Regions from separate parts of the Homo sapiens genome. Here all the other regions are linked to region 1. The links are contacts of gene promoters, found by promoter capture Hi-C in blood cells and fetal thymus (Javierre and others, 2016). All regions are on one chromosome and are shown on one strand. The core of a region is centred on a gene start or on the middle of the fragment in contact, and the rest is flanking DNA. Distances in the headings are between cores, read along the strand shown. Region 1 holds the start of CYP4F11 (cytochrome P450 family 4 subfamily F member 11). Region 2 overlaps CYP4F8 (cytochrome P450 family 4 subfamily F member 8). Region 3 holds the start of CYP4F3 (cytochrome P450 family 4 subfamily F member 3).

Region 1 (2,814 bases), core at 115-2,614:
GAGAGGAATGAGTGAGTGAGGAGAGGAATGAGTGAGTGAGGAGAGGAATGAGTGAGTGAGGAGAGGAATGAGTGAGCGGGGAGAGGAATGAGTGAGCGAGGAGAGGAATGAGTGAGTGAGGAGAGGAATGAGTGAGTGAGGAGAGGAATGAGTGAGTGAGGAGAAGAATGAGTGAGTGAGGAGAAGAATGAGTGAGTGAGGAGAGGAATGAGTGAGTGAGGAGAGGAATGAGTGAGTGAGGAGAGGAATGAGTGAGTGAGGAGAAGAATGAGTGAGTGAGGAGAGGAATGAGTGAGTGAGGAGAAGAATGAGTGAGTGAGGAGAGGAATGAGTGAGTGAGGAGAAGAATGAGTGAGTGAGGAGAGGAATGAGTGAGTGAGGAGAAGAATGAGTGAGTGAGGAGAGGAATGAGTGAGTGAGGAGAAGAATGAGTGAGTGAGGAGAAGAATGAGTGAGTGAGGAGAGGAATGAGTGAGTGAGGAGAAGAATGAGTGAGTGAGGAGAGGAATGAGTGAGTGAGGAGAAGAATGAGTGAGTGAGGAGAAGAATGAGTGAGTGAGGAGAGGAATGAGTGAGTGAGGAGAAGAATGAGTGAGTGAGGAGAGGAATGAGTGAGTGAGCAGAGGAATGAGTGAGTGAGGAGAAGAATGAGTGAGTGAGGAGAAGAATGAGTGAGTGAGGAGAGGAATGAGTGAGTGAGCAGAGGAATGAGTGAGCGAGAAGAGGAATGAGTGAGTGGGCAGAGGAATGAGTGAGCGGGGAGAGGAATGAGTGAGCGGGGAGAGGAATGAGTGAGCGGGGAGAGGAATGAGTGAGCGGGGAGAGGAATGAGTGAGTGGGCAGAGGAATGAGTGAGTGGGCAGAGGAATGAGTGAGCGGGGAGAGGAATGAGTGAGTGGGCAGAGGAATGAGTGAGCTGCCTCCCTCTCTTCTCTGTGTTCCCACACCCCAGCCACCCTCAAAACCCAGCTCCCTGAGCCCCATTCCTGCCCCTCAGGAACTCCATGCATCCTGAGACCCCAGACCCGTCCTGCTGACAAACTCACCAGGCCCTGGTGTCCCCAAAACCAGTTCTGTTTCGGGGGTTGAGGAAAACACTGGAGGCGGCGGCAGTTGTCATAGAAGGTGTAGGTCCAGGCCAGGACGCGGGCCAGGAGCCAGGAGCCTCCAACCAGCAGCAGAAGCAGCCACGGGGATGCTGCCACGGGCCCGAGGCCCAGCCAGGACAGGCTCAGCTGCGGCATCCTGCAGGGCAGACGGGATGGAGGGTGGGATCCTGAGGCCCAGGGAAGGGCCCAGGAAGCTCCAAGGACAGTGGAAAGGGGCAAGGATGGGCAGTGCTGGAGGCAGATCAGGGAAGGCTCTGAGATGGGTAAACAAGAGCTGAGATCTAAAGTCCAGAAATGCCCAATGAAAACCAGCAGCCAAGTGGCCTCCAGTTACACAGAAAGGGAAAGAGAGAGAGAGGCTGATTAGAATCCAAAAAGGCCCAGCCTGAATCACTGGGAGGTTGCCAGGGGTCCAGTTACCAGGAAATCACCAGTCTCCCAGGCCAGCAGCCTTGACCCACCCCAACCTTGGGCAGTCCCCTCCCCATCCCAGGCCAGGACCCTCCAGCCCTGCCACTGCCAGCCTGGCTCCTATCAGAAGCAGCTTGTCCCACATACCCTCCTCTCCCCCTCTGCTAGGAGGTCTTTGCCTCTGGCCCCTGATTTCCGGAAGGCTGTGGGAGGCGAGGCTGGGCTGGGCTGGTCGAGCCAATCCCCATGGACTGGGTGTGTCTTCCAAGCCTGGGCAACCAACCAAAACCTGGCGTAGGGCCAGCTGGGTGCAGAGGAGCCAGCTCAGGGTGACACAGCATGGGCACAGGATCCGCAGGTCTCAACATCTCACACCTGAGTGGGAGGGGATCTTGAGGAAGAGTCAAAGGTGACTCTGAGCCCCAAAGTTTACAGCCACCTTGCCCTTCCAAGGCAAGAGTGTGGCAGATAAAGTCATGAACTTGAGAGTTCAGGTGGCAAGAGAGTGGGGCCAGGCCAACCATTGTGCCAGATCATGTTCTGAGCTCCTCTCCACATGTGGTCCAGGAGTTCATCATGCACCATTTCTCAGTGCAGACTTAGGAGATTCAGAGACAGAAGCTCCTGGCCTCTGGCTTCACAGTCTGGCAGGAGTTCAAGTCCTGCCTCCAGGCAACCCAGGGCCTGGGTCGAGACATGACTGACAGGAGTAGGAACAAACTATCTAACTGTGCTGGGGATTACCCGGTCAGATTTTAGAGATAAAGAGCCCCGCTGGAGGAGAATACCTGGAGGCTAGGTTCAGCATAGGAGGACAGAGAGGGGAGATGGGAGGTAAGGCTGAGAGGGGCCATGAGTGGATGGGGCCAGGGACAGGAGGGCAGAGATGGGGGACCCTGAGTGGAGTCCTTATTCTGCCCTCCCCTTGCCCTAACTGTGGGTAGTGAGCCCCTCCTGGACTCAGGCTTCCCATCTGGGAAATGGGATGTCAGATAAGGCCTTAGAGGGGGACAGAGGAGGGATCACAGGAAAATGGGCCTTAGATGGGGACAGATGAAAGATTCTGAGGAGGGAGTGAAGGGAAGGGGCTGGCAGCTAGCACTTTAGCTGCTGTGTGTCAGTCTCTGCTCTTTGCAAAAGACAATATGCAAAGTTCTTTTACTGTGTACTGGACTCTAAATAAAGCACACCTACCATGTGCCAGGTACTCTGTATACATGTTGTGTACTGTGTGCCAAGTGCTCTATGAAAAGTGTGTCCACTGTGTGCTGGGCGCTCTACAGAAAATCTTGCT
Region 2 (2,814 bases), core at 119-2,618, 310 kb before region 1:
GACATAGTCTTCTACAAGACCCTGAAGCCCTGGCTGGGTAAGTAACTGTAGGTGGACGGGACGGGGACCAACTTTTGTGGCCAGGGGAAGATTCTGCCCTTGCCCACAGCCTTTGGCTGCCGTACTAGGGGATGGGCTCTTGTTAAGTGTTGGTGACAAGTGGAGACACCACCGTCGCTTGCTGACGCCTGCCTTCCATTTCAACATCCTGAAGCCCTATATAAAGATTTTCAGCAAGAGTGCAAACATCATGCATGTGAGTGCCTTGAACTCAGCATCCCAGCTGCAGCCTTGGGGTGGAGGGATCACATACAATTGGGTCTGGAATGTTGGCTCTCCTGGGTGGGTTTGGGGCCATTGCTCTTCCTCTCTGTGCCTTGATTTCCCCATGAGGCTAATAATCCTCACTAAAAGGTGGTAGGAGCATGTAATGGACTCATGTCTCTGACACTTAGTAGGTGGTCAGAAGGAGTCAATTTCCACATTTTTCTCACAGAAGCCCTGTAAACTCAAGAAAGGAATGATGACACGTGCATAGTAGTCATTGCTGAGTACAGATCACTTCAAAACTAATTGGTTTAGAGCAATAAGGGTTTATATTTGCTAACAAATCTGTGGGACTGTTGGCCAGCCCTTCTGCATGTGGATAGGATCCCTCATGGTATAAGAGCAGCTGTGGGTCAGGTAGGCAGCTTTGCTTGTGCCAGCTCAGTTCTCTCACATATTTGGAGCTTTGCTGGCTTCTGGCTGATTTAGGATGGCCTCAGCTGGGACACCTGGACTTTTCTCCATGTGATTCTCTGCCTCTAGATGACACCCCAGGATTGCTCACATGGCAGAGACAGGATTCCAAGGCAGTGAGAGGAGGATACAATGCTTCTCACTAGTTATTATTATTTATTTTATTTTTGAGATGAAGTCTCGCTTTGTCTCCCAGGCTGGAGTGCAGTGGTGCGATCTTGGCTCTCTGCAACCCCCGCCTCAAGCAATTCTCCTGTCTTAGCCTCGTGGGTAGATGGAATTACAGGCGCCCACCACCATGCCCAACTAATTTTTTGTATCTTCAGTAGAGACAGGGTTTCACCATGTTGGGCAGGCTGGTCTTGAACTCCTGACGTCAAGTGATCTGCCCTCCTCGGCCTCACAAAATGCTGGAATTACAGGCATGGGCTGCTGCACCCAGTCAACTTCTCACTAGTTATGGCCTTATCATTTTCACCACATTCTATTGGCCAAAAAAAGTAAAACGTCCACCATGAATCAATGTGGGGCAAAATAGGCTCCATCTCTTAATGGAAGTTGCTAAAAAATCACATTGCAAAAGATGTGGATGCAGGGAGAAGAGAAGAAATGGAGCCAAGCGTTTTGTGAAACGACTAGGATTTTTTTTTCTCCTGTGAGCTAATAAATTAGCTTGTTACTTTTGCATGGATTCTGCCAGAAGACACGAGACTTCTGGGTCAAAGACAAAAGTTTATTACTCATGTCTCAGCAAGTGGCATGTGCATCTTGTTGGTTTGGATCCTTTCTCTAAGCCACCCAAATTCCCTGGGGTGATAAGGTGGGCTTCTATAGATGCCTGCCATGTAGTATATTTGCATGATGGGGAGGAGCATTAGGCTTAGAGAATCAGCTTTTAGAGCAAGCAGAATAAGCCTAACGTGTGTCCCAGAGGAGCCATTACCTTATACCCCAAGGCTGTTCTCTGCAAACACAATGCTGAGAAATAGCCCAGATTAAGAACCTCAGGGTTGACCGGGTGTGGTGGCTCATGCTTGTAATCCCAGCACATTGGTATCACTTGAGGTCAGGAGTTCGAGACCAGCCTGGCCAACATGGCAAAACCCTGTCTCTACTAAAAATACAAAAATTAGCAGGGCGTGGTGGTGCGTGCCTGTAACCCCAGCTACTCAGGAGGCTGAGACAGGAGAATTGCTTGAACCCAGCAGGCAGAGGTTGCAGTGAGCCAAGACTGTGCCACTGCACTCCAGCCTGGGCAACAGAACGAGACTCCATCTCAAAAACTAGCAAACAAACAAAACAAACAAACAACAACAACAACAAAACTTCAGAGTTTTGCATTCTTGGCATGCTCAGAAAAAAATGTTCAGGGGGATCACAGGGACTTTTTGTAATCAATTTATAACAATGAAGATGAATCAAGATAATATTTATTGAGAACTCATCATATGACAGAAATGATGTAATATGCCTATTCCATGGTGTATGTGGTCTCATTTAATTTACACCGCCTTGTGAAGTAGAGGATATTTTCCACCCTCTCCCCCATGCCATGACAAATGGTGAAACTGAGGGCCAGAGAGGTTAGAGAGATTTCCCAAGTTCACCCAGCTTGTCAGTGAGTCTAAGAGTGGGGGAAAAGGGGTTCTAGCCTGGCTCCCTGGCATCAAAGCAGGTCATCTTGATTGCTATTGAGGATTTGACAGGTGAGACCTAGAGGAGGGCTGTGAGTTGACCAAGGGTACACACAGCTTAGGAATCACAGCTGGGGCTTGAACCCAGCCATGGGATCTTCATCTCCTAATAGTAACAGCTTCCACTCTCACCCAAGCGTAGTCCTCCCTGAGGATGGGGGTCTGGGACAGAAAACCAGGAGCATGCCTCTGGGGGAGTCCATCCTGGTGGTTGGGGTTGCAGGGGGACTCAGAGGAGCCAAGGCCTGGCCCCAGCCCTGCTCCCTTCTCTGGCCAGGCCAAGTGGCAACGCCTGGCCATGGAGGGCAGCACCTGTCTGGATGTGTTTGAGCACATCAGCCTTATGACCCTGGACAGTCTGCAGAAATGCATCTTCAGC
Region 3 (2,814 bases), core at 226-2,725, 290 kb before region 1:
GTAGGCACTTTTTATGTAGCGCAGGCAAGAGTAGGAACTCTTCATGTAGAGCAAGCAGCACTCAGTAGGCACCCTTTATGTACAGAAGGCAGCCCACAGTAGGTACACTTTATGGAGCACAGGCAACACTCGAGCAGGCAGCACTCAATAGACCCTCTTTATGTAGATCAGGAAACACTCAGTAGGAAGTCACCATATAGAGCAGGTGGTATCAGTAGGCACTGTTTATGTAGAGCACTTGGCACTCAGTAGGCATGTGTTATGTAGACAGCAACTGGTGCTCAGTGGGCACTCTTCATATACAGGGGGTGGCACTCAATAGGCACTCACTATGTAGAGCAGGTGGCACACAGTAGGCACTCTATGAGGAATATCAGGAACTGAGTATACAGGGTTAATGTAGAGCACCTGGCACACAGTAGGCACACTTTATGGAAAGCACTTGGCACAGAGTAGACAGGATTTAGCACCTGGCACACAGTAGCTGCCCTTCATTTAGAGTATTGGCACACAGTAGAAGTACTTTCCATGCAGCCTTTGTGCAGAGTAGAGACTGGCACACAGCAGCTCAAGTGCTAGTTGCCACCCTTTCCCTTCACTCCTTTTTGGGGCTCCCTCCTCTTAGGAGCCCTCATTGTCCCCCGCTAAGGCCCTCATCGAACATCCCATTTCCCAGATGGGAAGACTGCACCCAGGAGGGGCAGTACTGACCAAAGTCAGAGCAAGGATGAGGCAGAATGAGGACTCCATTCATGGTTCCCTGGCTCTGCCCTTCCCCTGCCTGGACCCCATCCGTTCCCTCTCATCCTAACCCTCCACGTCCCCGCTCTGTCCTCCTATACTGAGTCCGGCCTCCAGATTTGCTTTTCCAGCTGAGCTCTTAATCTCCAGAATCTGACCCAGGTAATCCTCAGTGGGGCTGGATTCTTTGTTCCCGTTCCTAGCAGTCAGGTCTCCAACAGGGCCCTGGACTGCCTGGAGGCAAGACTTGAACTCCATCCAGCAGCAGGGGGATAGAGGCTTGTCTCTTCCAGGTTGCCTGATTCAGCATCCAGAAGTGGTACACGGTGTCCTACCGGCCCAGGGTTAGAGAGGAGCACAGGAGATGATCTGGAACAAGGCTTGGCCTGGCCTGGCTCGCTTGACACCTGAACTCTCAAGTTCATGCTTTTATCTGCCACACACTCAGTAGGTGCTCTTTAAGAGCAGGTGTCACACAGTGGAAACTCTATCTGACCCCTCTCGGCTTACTCTCCACCTTATGTGGGAGGTGCTGAGACCTGAGGATCCAGTGCCTGTGCTGTGTCACCCTGAGCTGGTTCCTCTGCATCCAGCTGGTCTCCCACACCCAGGTTTTGGCCAGCTGCCCAGACATGGGAGCGGCACCCAGGCTGTGGGGATTGGCTGGCCCAGCCCAGCCCAGCCTAGCCTCCCACAGCCTTCCCTACATCAGGGGCCAGGGGAAAAAACCTCCCAGAAGAAGGGGAGAGGAGGTTGTGTGGGACAAGGTGCTCCTGACAGAAGGTGCCAGGGTGGGGGTGGTGGGCCTGGGGCATCCTAGCCTGTGATGGAGATGGGCACTGGGCAAGGGATTGGGCGCACACATAGGGGAGCCCCAGCCTTCCCACATTCTCCATTGCTGCCCAAGGCCCAGGCAGCTCCTGGTTGCTGGCTTGGAGGATGAGTGGTTTTCTAACTGAAACCAAGCCCCTGGCAACGTCCTAATGATTCAGGCTGGGCCTTTCTGGACTTTAATCAGTTTCTCTGTCTTTCTCAATCTAAGTGCTTACCGGGTAACTGGAGGCCACTTGGTTGCTGGTTTTGGCTGGGCCTTTCTGGACTTTACCCCTCAGCCCCTGTTTATCCATCCCTGTTTACTCTTACTGTTCTATCTCCAGCACTGCCCGTCTCTGCCTCTCTCCACTGTCCCTGGAGCTCCCTGGGCCCTTCCCTGGGCCTCAGGACCTCACTCACCACCCCATCTGCCCTGCAGGATGCCACAGCTGAGCCTGTCCTCGCTGGGCCTTTGGCCAATGGCAGCATCCCCGTGGCTGCTCCTGCTGCTGGTTGGGGCCTCCTGGCTCCTGGCCCGCATCCTGGCCTGGACCTATACCTTCTATGACAACTGCTGCCGCCTCCGGTGTTTCCCGCAACCCCCGAAACGGAATTGGTTCTTGGGTCACCTGGGCCTGGTGAGTGTGGCAGCAGGACGGGTCTGGGGTCTCAGGGTGGATGGACTTCCTGAGGGGTAAGAATGAGGCTCAGGTGAGAGGGGGTGGGCTGGGGTCTGGGGTGGCAGAGAAGCAGGGGAGGCGTCTTACTCATTCCTCTGCTTACTCATTTCTGTGAGGTGCCAACCCAAGCCCTTCTCACCTCCCTGTTCTCCCACTCTTGGCCTGTGTTGAATCCTTTTCCTGCCTGTCTTTCCACATTAATGCACCTCTGCGGGGCTCTTGGGCAGGGGGTTGGGTGCACAGAAAGGTGAACCCCTGGCGTTCCCACATTCTCCATTGCTGGACTCGAGGCCTCCTGTACCCACTGTTCAGGGTCCTCTCCCTACCTGGCCTATTTCCTCTTATGAGGGTATAGGTGGGCCAGAGGAGAGGTGTGGGCTGTCTCTCACCTCCACCACATCCGGAGGCACCTTCCTCTTATCTTGTTCCTCCCCAGTAAGATGTCCCAATGGGGTCCTGTTGCCAAACCCACATAAAAGTTGGCCACTCACTTCCCCTTTCAGAAGCCTTCCCTGACCTTTCTCCTCCCCCAGACCTTGCCCTCTGACTTAGACCTGCTCTCCCCTTTGCGGAACGTGGT

What was found. Contacts are between HindIII fragments. The CHiCAGO score rates a contact against its expected background, and 5 or more counts as called.
Region 2: a contact is called between a fragment that was not itself captured here and the fragment with the promoter of CYP4F11 in region 1, in 1 of 17 cell types (M0 macrophages). The highest score is 5.2, in M0 macrophages.
Region 3: the fragment with the promoter of CYP4F3 here is called in contact with the fragment with the promoter of CYP4F11 in region 1 in 12 of 17 cell types (naive CD8 T cells, total CD4 T cells, total CD8 T cells and 9 more); the score reaches 10.5 in naive CD8 T cells.

Annotation. Positions count from the first base shown.
Region 1 is chr19:15,933,165-15,935,978 of GRCh38, forward strand. It overlaps CYP4F11 (cytochrome P450 family 4 subfamily F member 11), which reads right to left and starts at 1,365. Exons shown (of 12, transcript NM_021187.4): 1 at 1,047-1,365. The coding sequence starts at 1,244. The HindIII fragment of the contact is 9,699 bases long and covers 1-2,814 here.
Region 2 is chr19:15,619,507-15,622,320 of GRCh38, forward strand. It overlaps CYP4F8 (cytochrome P450 family 4 subfamily F member 8), which reads left to right. Exons shown (of 13, transcript NM_007253.4): 4 at 1-37; 5 at 129-256; 6 at 2,713-2,814. Among named protein-coding and RNA genes, the nearest start is that of CYP4F8, 5.7 kb to the left of the region's middle. The HindIII fragment of the contact is 5,324 bases long and covers 1-2,814 here.
Region 3 is chr19:15,639,422-15,642,235 of GRCh38, forward strand. CYP4F3 (cytochrome P450 family 4 subfamily F member 3) reads left to right here and starts at 1,476. Exons shown (of 13, transcript NM_000896.3): 1 at 1,476-1,524; 2 at 1,994-2,192. The coding sequence starts at 1,995. The HindIII fragment of the contact is 7,096 bases long and covers 1-2,814 here.